Regions from separate parts of the Homo sapiens genome. Here region 2 is linked to region 1. The links are contacts of gene promoters, found by promoter capture Hi-C in human tissues and cell types (Jung and others, 2019). All regions are on one chromosome and are shown on one strand. The core of a region is centred on a gene start or on the middle of the fragment in contact, and the rest is flanking DNA. Distances in the headings are between cores, read along the strand shown.

Region 1 (5,766 bases), core at 2,509-5,008:
TGACTGTTGTACCCTCTGGGCCTCCCGTGGGGCTCCTATCACTTTCAGCCTTGGGCAGTAGTCACCTGTAGCCTACCTTACCCCCTCCTAAGCCTGTGCTCTCCTTTCTGGCAGGAGCTTCTCTGCACCCTAGCACTCCTGGGCGGGGTCGGAACCACTGCAATGCCTCTGTGCCTTACCTGTTCACAAGGCCTTCGACGTACCCCTGGAGGCGGCCCCAGGGCCCGGATGACTCCTGGCCGGGGTTGTGGGGGGCTGTACTGAGGGTAGGTCAGAGGCCTGGGGTAACTGCTGGGCCCCAGGAAATGAGGCTGTACCATCCACTGCAGCTCCTGACTGCCACTCATGGTGTTGATGCTTGGCACCAGGTGGAACTTCTAAGGAATAAGAAATGGAAGGCCACAGATGAGGTCCGTGTGGATTGAGGGGCTTCCACTGGGCAGAGGCTACACTGCTGTCTACCTTCAATGTACAGGCTAGCTCTGGGAACAGAAAGAGCACAGCTTGGCAGTCAGAGACTGACCTGGTGGCAAATCCCTGCTCATAAGCTGTGTGGCTTTGGGGCAGGTCACATAACCTCTCTGTGCCCCCATTTCCCCATTAGAACTAACATTTATAAAGCACAAACTGCCAGGAACTGTTCTAACCACTTTACAAATACTGACTCATATCATTGGCACAGTAATATCTTCATTTTCTTTTCTTTCTTTTTTTTCTTTTTTTTTTTTCAGATGGAGTCTCACTCTGTTGCCCAGGCTGGAGTGTAGTGGCACGATCTCAGCTCACTGCAACCTGCGCCTCCCAGGTTCGAGTGATCCTCCTGCCCCAGCCTCCTGAGTAGCTGGGATTATAGGCGTGCACCACCATGCCCGGCTAATTTTTGTATTTGTGGTAGAGACAGGGTTTCACCATGTTTGCCAGGCTGGTCTCCAGCTCCCAACCTCAGGTGATCCACCCGCCTCGGCCTCCCAAAGTGCTGGGATTACAGGCGTGAACCACAGCGCCCAGCCTAGTATCTTCATTTTCAGACGGGAGAACAGTTGTCCGCAGACACAGAGCCAATGAGCCCAGCAGCTGGGCTCTTACCCACTCCTGCACCCGTTTGCACGAAGAGGATAATTACAGCTCCCAGCTCAAGGGGAGGCTGTGAGAATCAGGTGAGAGAATGTGTGCGACAGTCTGGTAAGTGGCAGGTGCCCAGTGCAGAGGGGCTGAGGCAGGAAAGAGTCACTGCTCTGGGTTCAGGCCATTCCATTGCTTTTTTTTTTTTTTTTCTTGAGACAGGGTCTCACTCTTTCACCCAGGTTGGAGTGCAGTGACCTGCGGGCTCAAGCAATCCTCCCACCTCAGCCTCCCAAGTAGCTGGGACTACCGACGTGCACCACCACATTTGGCTAATTTTTTTTTTCTTTTCTGTTTTTTTTTTTTTGAGACACAGTCTTGCTTTGTCACCCAGGTTGGAGTGCAGTAGCCCGATCTCGCCTCACTGCAACCTCCACCTCCTGGATTCAAGCAATTCTCCTGCCTCAGCCTCCCGAGTAGCTGGGACTACAGGCGCCCACAACTGTGCCCGGCTAATTTTTGTATTTTTAGTAGAGACAGGGTTTCACTATGTTGGCCAGGCTGGTCTTGAACTCCTGACCTCTGGTGATCCACCCGCCTTGGCCTCCCACAGTGCTGGGATTATAGGCATGAGGCACCGCGCACGGCCTGGCTAATTTTTTTTAAATTTTTTTGTAGAGACAGGGTCTCACTAGGTTGCCCAGGGTGGTCTCAAATTCCTGAGCTGAAGCAGTCCACCCACCTCAGCCTCCCAAAGTGTTGAGATGACAGGCTTTAGCCACCTGGCATGGCAGGCTGTCCCAATTCTAATCTCAGCTCTCAGCTACTTACTGGCTGTGTGACCATGGGCAAGTTATTTAACCTCCATGTGCCTCAGTTTCCTCATTTTTAATATTGTTACAGGTGAGGATTACAGGATTTCACTGATGTTAAGAAGTACCCTTTAATAGCTCTGAAATCATAGTTTAATTGGCAATTTAAAAAATTTTAGTGGACTAGGCATGGTGGCTCATACCCAGCACTTTGGGAGGCTGAGGTAGAAGGATCACTTGAGCTCAGGAGTTTGAGGTCACACCGGGCAACACAGTGAGACTTCATTTCTACAAAAAAATTAAAAAATTAGTTGGGTGTGGTGGTGCGTGCCTGTGGCCAGGTCGCTTCCCAGCTAGGATCTCAGTAGGATTGCTTGAGCCCAGGAGGCTGAGGCTGCAGTGAGCTGTGATTGCACCACTGCTCTATAGTCTGGGCAACAGAGGGAGACCCTGTCTCAGAAAAAAAAAAAAAAAGAAAAGAAAGAGAAGGAAAGAAAATTAGTGGCATAAAGTTATAGTGGGTTTTTTTTTCAATCGATGAGGTCTTCGATTCCGTGAAATATGGTAAATGATGTAGCAAGCGCCCAGCACAACGTCCCTGTTCCCATTCTATCAGCCAGCTATCTGAGGAGTGGGTTGGGATGGGGCTCAGTGTTCTGGGAGAAGTGGGTTCTAGCTCTGCCGCTGGGCCCTGGGTGTGGGCGCCCAATCGTCCGGGAAGCGCCCACAAGCCCAGGCAAGTCCCGACAGCGGTAGCCCGAGCCCAAGCGCTGCGGGCCCGGCGTCCCAGTGACCCCAGTTCCGGGTCCGAGGCACCGCCGGCGGCATCTCCCACTCCCGGGCCCGGGCCGCTCCAGGCCAGGAAGGGAGGGACGCCCCGGGTGACTCAGCCGCCGTGACTCGGCCGCCGTGACTCGGCGGAACGGACGCCCCTCCTTCCCTCCCCTGTCGACACGTGCTCGCAGCCCCTCGACAGGAAATGGGCACCTGCAGCCTCCCGGGTGCCCCCCGGCGGGCAGCGGGCGCCGTTAGGGGCTGAGAGTGGGGTCGCGAGAGTCGCCCGCAGCCTGACCCCGCGCACGTCCCGGAACCTCGAGGTCTCTATTCGCCGCATTCGGCAAAGGGATCGAGGGCCGGTCTCCGGGGACCTGGCAGGTTCCACTGCCCGGACCCCCCTGGACTCCCCAGGCCGAGAAACGATAGGGACTTGGCGACGGAGGGGCGAAGGACAGACAGACGGACGGACACGCGGAGGGTCGCAGACCGGGCCGGGACTCCCACCCTGGCCCAGCTGCTCTCCCGACGGATCCCGCCTCCCTCCCGTGTGGGGACCCTCACCCCAGCCCAGACTCCAGATCCCAGGAATTCAGCCCGAAGCGGAGAGACCCTCCTAGCCTTCGAGGCGACCACCCTAGGCGCCCACGCCCCTTCTGAAGCAGGGTGGACGCAGAAGTCAGAGGTGGGCAGGAGGAGAGAAAGCGGGCACGGAGACGGAGGGACGGACGCGGACGGCGAGGGAGAAGGGGGCGGCTGGGAGAAGGGGAGTTCGCGGGTCTCTGCTGCCCGCTGCGCGGTGGGGGCAACTGGCCCCGGACGGCGAGGGGCAGGATCCTCGCCCCAGCCCCCAGCCCGGCCCCGACTCCGGTTCCCCGCTCCAGTCCCGGAGCGTGCGGGAGTTGACCCCGGCCTCCCACGCGCGGTCCTCCCGTGGGACCACCGGCGTCGGGCCCCACTCACCTGCTGGGCTGCCTGCGCTGCGGCCGGGGGCTGCGCGGGGCCGCCGTACCCGCCGCCGTTCCCGGAGCTCGGGCCGGGTTCCCCGAAGTCTCGGAACATGCCCGGGGCTGGCGGCTCTGCGGGGTACACGGCTGCTGGGTTCTGACTCACCCGCGCCGTGCGGAGTCTTTTCTTTTTATGAATGAAAAGTTCTCGGGCTGAACCACTGCGACCGCGGGGGGTGGGGGCGTTGCAGCGGCGCGGTCACCTCCAGGCTCCACCCCCGAGACGCGCCGCCTTGGCCCGTCGGTCCCGAACTTGGCGACGCCTCCCCAAGTCCGGCTGCAGCCTTTTCACCGGGATGGGCCCGGCTCGGCGTTCCCCGGAGGCTGCGGGCCCGCCCCCCTGACGTAGCTGCCCATACATGGTGTAACTTCCTCGCCGCGCCCAGGTGGAGCCCCGGGTTCCCCTGCGGACTGACGCACCTGCCAGAGCCCGCGCCCCGCCCCAGCCCTCTCGAGGCCTGGGCTAACCTCCGTTTCTGCTCCCACAAAATAGCACGAAAGAATCACATCTCTAGGAGCCACGCCAACCGCCACCCAAAGCTTCGTGGAGTGAGGTCTTTCCACTGGCCTTGTTTTAAGGCTTCGAGTATATGAAAAGTGAATAAATGACAAACCAGGGTTACAAAAATGGTGGCATATTTTATTTTACTTTATATTTTTGAGACCGGGTCTCTGTCACCCAGGCTGGAGTGCAGTGGCTCGATCTCGGCGCACTGCAGGCTCAACTTCCTGAGCTAAAGGGATTCTCCTGCCTCAGCGCCCCCTCCAAGTAAGTGGGACTACAGGCGCGCGTCACCACACCCAGGTAATTTTTGTGTTTTTTGTAGGGATTGGGTCTCGCCGTATTGCCCAGGCTGGGTGGTATATTTTAAATGTTTGCGATAAGGTAATGCTTTGAACTAACCCCACATAAAATGCAATATAATAGTATTACTCAGGATAATTTCAGGAGCTATAACGAGTTTTAATTCAGGGCCACTACAGGTGTCCTGAGGTCTGATAAACGCCATCTTCATTACGGTCAGTGCCTTTCGGAGGCTTGTGGCCACCAGACTTGTTTGGAGAGTATGTCAAAGGTGAGTGAATGTGAGGCAGGTATCATCCTCATCTCTGTTTTACAGATGGGGAAACTGAGGCTGGGAGATGCTGAAATGAATTGCTTGAAGTCGCTAAGTGAGTAGCTGGCACAGGTTGCCAAGTCACAGCCGTGGGCACTCCAAGCCCAGGCTCAGCCAAGATTTTCAAAGCCCTTACACCTTCACAGACACCTTGTCGCACATCCAGAATGTTAGTGCTGGGCACCATCCCAAAGCTTCTCTCTGATTACTTCCATCATAGATGAGGAAACTGAGGCCCAGATGGAGTACTGAGCTGTCAGTTGTCACACGACTACAGAAAGAGGGCTGGGGCCAGGTGTGGTGGCTCATGCTTGTAATCCTAGCACTTTGGAAGGCCAAGGCAGAAAGAACCATTTGAGACCCCATCTCTACAAAAAATTATAAAATTTTCTGGACATGGTGGTACGCCTGCCTTGTGGTCCCAGCTGTTCTGGAGGCTGAGGCGGGAGGATGGCTTAAGCCAGGGAGGTTGAGGCTGCGGTGAGCTGTGACTGCGCCACTGCAGTCCAGCCTGGGGGACAGAGCAAGACTCAAAGTAAATAGATCAAGAGAGGGCTGGGCTCTCCTGCTTCTCCATCGGTCCTTCCATTTCATCAGCTCTAGCTTTGCCCTCTGGGCTACTTTCCTTGGGAACACAGGCCAGAAGCCTGTGGGTGCACTCAGGACTTAGAGCCAGGAAGTCCAGATTGCCCCTGGGGTTCTAGTCCCAGAGCTACCATTTTCTGTCTGTGTGACACTGGGCAGGTCACCTTCCTTCAACTGGGCCTCCCTGCTGATCTCACAGAGCTGTTGTGGGATCAAGTGAGATCACAGATGTGAAAATGCTTTGTAAGCTATAAAGTGTTATGCACTCAGAAAGTGGTTACCAGCCTGGTGCCTCTCCTTTGCCTTTGAGCGACCCAATGCTTGTCACCCTCTTGTCATCATCATCTCTGTGTGTGTGTGTGTGTGTGTGTGTGAGAGAGAGAGAGAGAGAGAGAGAAAGAGAGAGAG
Region 2 (5,649 bases), core at 270-2,769, 1.5 Mb after region 1:
GTGAGGGGCAACGTGTGCTCCCGAGCTGTGGCGGAGGTCAGTCGGGGTCAGTGAAAGCACAGAGGTGTCCCTGGGTTAGGGTCAGAGAAGGAGGACCCAGTAGAGCAGCGTGCCCAGTGCCCCCCACCCCTAGCCTCTCTCCAAGGCTTAGCCTCCACCCGCCCGTCTCCCCTCCTCTCCTGGTAGCCCCTCACACCCCGGGGGGAGGGCCAGGCTGGGAGCTGGGGGAACAGGGGTCCTCTGGGATTGGGAGGGTCTGTGGGGAGGGCTCCAGAAGCCCAGCACGGAGTTGTGGAAAGGAAGGCGGGTGGGGAGAGCAAGCATGAGGGGACCTCTGGCGAGCCCCGGGGACTCTTTCGAAGGTTTCCTTCGAGGGGCTCGGCCGGGAAGCTGCACGGCGGCGGTTGCCAGCTGGCCCTCCCTGCTGGCGGTGACCTCTCGCTCTGGGACCCCTCCCGGCGCTGCGCCTTCCCCCTGTGTGGCCTCGGCGCCCCCGGCCCCGCCCCCTCCCGCTCCCGCCCGGTCGCTCCTTCCCCGCGGCGGGGGCGGGGGCGGGGGCGGGGGCGGGGTCCGGGGCACCGGGCTCCGGGCTCTGCCCGGCGCTGCCCTTTCCCGCGCGTCAACTCCCCTCCTGCCCGGGCTGAGCGGCTGCTCCCGCCGCTCCCTGGCCAGTGACAGACTTTTTCCTGCCGGGTCCGGCCCGGCTGCGCCAGCCCCCCGCCAAACAATAATCACTCCCAGGCCACGGTGGCCCGGGGGACTCGCGGCCGCCGCCCGCCGCCCCTACCTGCCGCCGGCTCCCCGGCCGTGGGCACCATGGAGGGTTCCGGCCGCGCGGCGCGTAGCTAGGAAGCCGCGAGTCCCGCGGCGCGGCTCGGCCCGTCCGGCCCGGCCCAGCCAGGCTCGGCGCTGCCCTCCGCCCTCCTCTCCGCCGCCCGCCCTTCCTCCCGCCCGCCCTCCTACCCCTCCCGGCGGGCCGGGGAGGGAGAGCGGCGCGGCCCGAGGTGTCGGCCTCCCCTCGCCTCCCGCCGCCCGGCCTCGGGCTCCCCCGGCCTCCCTCCCTCTTCCTCTCCCAGCCCCTCCTCCCACCCGCAGCCTCGCTCCCCGCCTCGGACTCTCTGGCCCCGACTGGTGCGCGGGGCTCTGGGGCTGCGGCTCCTACGGCCCGCCTCGCTGGGGCTCCAGGTTGCCGCCTCCCCAGGTCTGCGATCGTCCGGGCTCCCCGCCGCTCCCGGCCACCTCCTGGCCCCGCCGTGCGGACTCCAGGAATGCCGCGTCCCCGCCCGGCCCCTCTCGAGGGCGCCCAGCCGTGCCTCCCCCGGCCCGAGCCCAGCTCCCTGGCCCGGCCCCGGCGCGGGGCTCCCGGGGGTCAGGGCAGGACGGGAACCGGATCTCGTGGCTGCTTGGCGGGGCGGGGGTCGGGGCCTCGGCCGCCTGGCTCCTACCTGCTCGGAGGTCCATGGGGCTGGGGCCGGGCCGGCCGGGTGCGGCTCCTCTCCCGGAGGCTGGCGGAGTGGGAGGGCGAGCCGCGGCTCCGGCGAAGCTTTAATAATCCCATCCGCCAGGCCCACTCGCAGGTTTTTTTCGCTCGGTTTCGGATTTTTTTTTTTTTTCGGTGTGGGACATTCTGCAAACTTTTTTTTTTTTTTTCTGACGTGTAAAGCTGTAACCACAAATTGTAGCGGCCCTCCCCGGGGTGGGGGTAGGAGGGGGGAGGAGGGAAGGGAGGGCTTCTGGGGCTCCCTCTCCCTCCCACAGCACCGAGGGGGGGTGAGGTGAGGCGAGGCTGTGGCGGTACCACCCTGGGCCTCCTGGGGGAGGGGGCGGGGAGGCCATCAGTCCGTCTGAGGACTCCCAGGAGCCGGGGGACAGCGCCGGCTTCGGGTGGGCTTCTCCCCAGGCGTTGGCCTGGGACACCGCCCCCTGCCCCCTGTCCCCTGCCGATGCGGGGTCCCTGATCCAACCTACCTCTGCCTGTGCGAGGTCCCTGCTCCCACCCTACCTCTGCCTCCTCATCTCTAACCTTCCCTCCTCCTCCCCCTTGAGTAAATGCAATGACACATTCTCCCAAATGCCAGCGAGCTGGCCTGGGAGCAAGTGATGGTGTTTTTCCTGCTGCCCTTTGTCTGGGCTGACCGCCCCCCCTGCCTATTGTCCCGCCGCTTGTCCCATTTCCAAAAGCTAGAGCTAAGCGAGGCGCTGGGGCTGGGGCAGGTGACTAACCAGCTCACAATGCCCCCTGCGGGGGAGGAAGAGGGCACTGCAGGCCCACTGCCCGGCCCAGAGGCGAGAAGAGGCCACTTGGCGGGACTTTTTCCCTCAAGTTCACAAGGTTCTTCATTCTTCCTCCAGTGACCAGGGAGAATGTACATGGGTGGGGGATTTGTAATTCATTAATCAGCACGAGGCAACGGACCAGTTTCAACACCACAGGCTTCTTGGGTGACTCAGCGGGAATGCTCCGATTCAAGGCGATGGACCGCCCGAGCGTCCCCATTTGTGAAATGTTTCCCCATGAAGACCCTGGCATTCTCCTTCCTTTGGGGTTTCGGGTTGTTGGTTTTTCCGGTGGTGAGGTGGGGGTGGCTTAGCGGTGAGGGCTCCCCCTCCTTCCCGCAGGCCTGGGTTGGGATTTGCTGGGCAGGATACCTGGGGGTATGCCTGGACCCTCCCAGAGGGGGTCCCCTCCTCCCTCTCCAAGGGCTGCCGGGGAGAACACGCTCAGAGGAGGCAGCTCTAACCCAGGGCTGGGGACTGCCCTGCTTCATGATTTTCCTGGGGGAGAGTCATGTGGTCCCCAAGGCTTGGGTGCCCTATAGCCACACCACCAATTAAATCACTGGGTAATAAGTTGCTTTTGTTGTTGTTTATTTATTGTTTCAAAGTGGGAGAGGCCAGTGGTGGGCCAGACCTGGAAGGTGATGCCTCTCCCTGGAGTGGCATCAGAGATTTGTCTCCCACTCCTTCCTGGTGCCCCTGGAATGGGAGGGCACTCTGCCAGTCCAGCCCCAGCGCCTCCAACCTGTGGCCTGGGCAGGCATCCTGATCATGGCCAGTGCTGGGTCCCAGGGCAGCTCTTCCCTTCTCTGTACCGCGAGCACTGAGGTGGGGGGGTGGGGGGGGTGGGGAAGAAGTTTGTTTTCAATTACCTCACTGGAGTGGGACAGACTTTGTTGTTGGGTTGGTTTTTTTTTTTCTCTCTCTCTCTGTCCTTTCTTCCTTTTTTTTTTCCTAAACAAGGAGAAAAAGGGCTGGGAAAGGAGAGCTGGCTTGGGGTGGGGGGCAGGGGACTTTGAGGGACCTCAGTAGCAGCTCTGATGAAAACTGCCTGGAGGGACCCTTGTGAAAAGTGCTCAGGGCCTACCTCTGCCCCCCCCACCGCCCCCGCACCTCCTCCCTGCCCCCACCAGCCAGGACTCTGGAGTTTCAGTGACATTCCTGATGGATGAACCCAGTGATTTCTTGATGCCCATGCCAAGGTCAAGAAGGCAGATGCCCATGGGTGCATGGCACGGAGGCCAGCCAGGAGGTCCCCCTAGCTGCTACCCTTTCAGAGGGAGGGGGCCAAGAAGGAGGGGAGAGGGAGAAGGGGAGCCGCTTCAGCCTCTCCCTCCGCCTCGAAGCCGCTCCTTGTGGAGTCTGCACAATGTGGTTTGGATTTGGCTGAGCCCCTCAGCACCTTATAAAGCACCTTGCTGAGTCAGGGAGAAAGCAGCCCCAGTGTCGGGGGAGCGGAGGGGAGGGGGCGCTGAAGAAAGGGGCGGGGGCGAGAGAAGAGGGGTGAGACCAGAGAAGGGGCAAGACTGGGAAGGAAAGAGGAGACACAAAGAGGCAAATGGGTGGGAGTGAGAAAGAGGGGAGGAGGGAGCTGGGAGGAAGAGGGGGAAGCAGCGGATGCGGGGAGAGGAAGACACTGAAGCAGAAGGTGGGAGTGGACAACGCCATCCCCAGCACACATCCACCTGGGGCAGCCAGAAAGCACTGGTTTGCAGGAACTGAGGGCTGCAGCTCTGAAACAGGGACCCAGGCCAGGTGGGTACAGGGACAATTGGCTTTACACACAGCCCCCCAGTCCCCAGTTTGTCTTTGAATCTTAATGTAGTGACCCCGAAAGCTGGGAAAGTTGTGTTCTCCCTCTGCCTCTTGGACTTGCCTCCCTGCCCTCTCCCCTCACCTAGTGGGGGCCAAGCCTCTCCCCTCCCCTCCCCCACCTTCCACACTGCCAAAGGGAAAAGCAGCTCCATCTCCAAGCTGCCAGTGCCCCTCTGCCATGCCTGGGCAAAGGCAGCAGGCTGGGAGTTGCCAGTTGGGTTGGGTCGGGGGCTGGAATAAAGACTGTGCCTTTATCCTGCCAAGTCCCTAAATGGGGGTAGCTGCTGGGGTTTGGGGAAGAAGGAAGAGAGGAAAGACGGAGCAGGAGTAGCCCCTCCAAGATTTCCGTGGGATGGGGCAGGACAGGTGGCTGCCCTCTGATTTCCAGCTGGAAATCAGGACCTTGGGAAAGTTCCTGCTCCCCTGTGGCTCTCAAAAAGAATCTTGTTAGGGGCCCTTCCAGTGCTAACAATCTGGGGTTGCTGGTGGGAGGGCACAGCTTAGAGGAGACGCCAGTCCCCCCAGCTCCAGACAAGCATGGGAAAGAGAAGCGCTCCGTCTGCTCCAGGGGTACATTGTGCAGGCACTTTCTCAGTCTCTGCCAGGTCCTGTTAAGGACAGAGAGAAGGCAAGGAAAACCCATCCCTGCTTTTAGGAATGTCACAGTTGGGGCTTACATCTGTAATCCCAGCGCTTTGGGAAGCCCAGGCAGGAAGATTCCTTGAGGAATTTGAGACCAACCTGGGCAACATAGAGACCCCATCTCTACCAAAAATTTAAAAATTAGCCCAGCATGGTGGCGCATGCCTATAGTCCCAGCTAATCAGGTGGCTGAGGCTGAAGGATTGCTTGAGCCCAGGAGTTTGAGGCCGCAGTGAGCTATGACCACTACACATGGTCTTTGTTTCCTGGGGCAACAGAGCAAGACCCTCTCTCAAAAGAAAAGAATTCCACAGTCTAGGGACACTCATTAAACTGTCTGACATCAGCCATAGGTGGCAGTGGGTACATTTAGGGCCAAGGAGGATGGTGGGAGGAGAACTTCCTGGAGGAGGTAGAGCTTTGGGGTAGAAATGTGGATGGATTGAGCTAGAAGAGCAGTGGCAACCACAGGCAAAGTGCCAAGGTAGCACCAGGTACAGCTCAGTGTTCCCTGCAGCAGGCACAGAGCTACTCTGGGAGTCAGAAAACCTCCATTCCAGTTGGCCAGTGTGACCTTGGGACAAGCCTGTCCCCTCTCTGTATGATGGGGTCTGACCACCTCTGCCCTCCTCTCCATGGGATGGTGGGAGTAGTCCGTGAGCTGACGAGGGGCCACTGGCTTGCTGCCTTCTCTGGCCTTTTAGACTCCAGGCTTCACCATCCACAGGGGGGTGGCAGGTCAGGTCCTCAAGAAGTGTGGCTGGCTGGGGGCCAGAGCTGGCACCAGGTGATGACTGAGCTGCCCTCCAAGGGGGGAGGGTGAGTCAGTGTTGGCTCAGGGACCGGCTAGTGTCCCACCCTTCCTCCCCACATGGTGACATCCCCAAGGAAGGCTCTCCAGGCACCCAAAACACC

What was found. The method cuts DNA at HindIII sites, captures the fragments that hold promoters and counts their contacts. A contact is called where the count stands out against the background at its distance.
Region 2: a contact is called between the fragment with the promoter of CLCF1 here and the fragment with the promoter of FOSL1 in region 1, in 1 of the 25 tissues and cell types used here (dorsolateral prefrontal cortex).

What each region holds. Positions count from the first base shown.
Region 1 is chr11:65,896,630-65,902,395 of GRCh38, forward strand. FOSL1 (FOS like 1, AP-1 transcription factor subunit) reads right to left here and starts at 3,759. Exons shown (of 4, transcript NM_005438.5): 1 at 3,612-3,759; 2 at 180-377. The coding sequence starts at 3,710. RefSeq lists silencers at 2,630-2,857, 2,823-2,942, 3,551-4,150. The HindIII fragment of the contact is 4,995 bases long and covers 1-4,581 here.
Region 2 is chr11:67,372,079-67,377,727 of GRCh38, forward strand. It overlaps CLCF1 (cardiotrophin like cytokine factor 1), which reads right to left and starts at 1,520. Exons shown (of 3, transcript NM_013246.3): 1 at 1,446-1,520. The coding sequence starts at 1,461. All of the region lies in intron 2 of LOC100130987 (a long non-coding RNA gene), which reads left to right. RefSeq lists silencers at 909-1,248, 1,809-1,858. The HindIII fragment of the contact is 15,975 bases long and covers 1-5,574 here.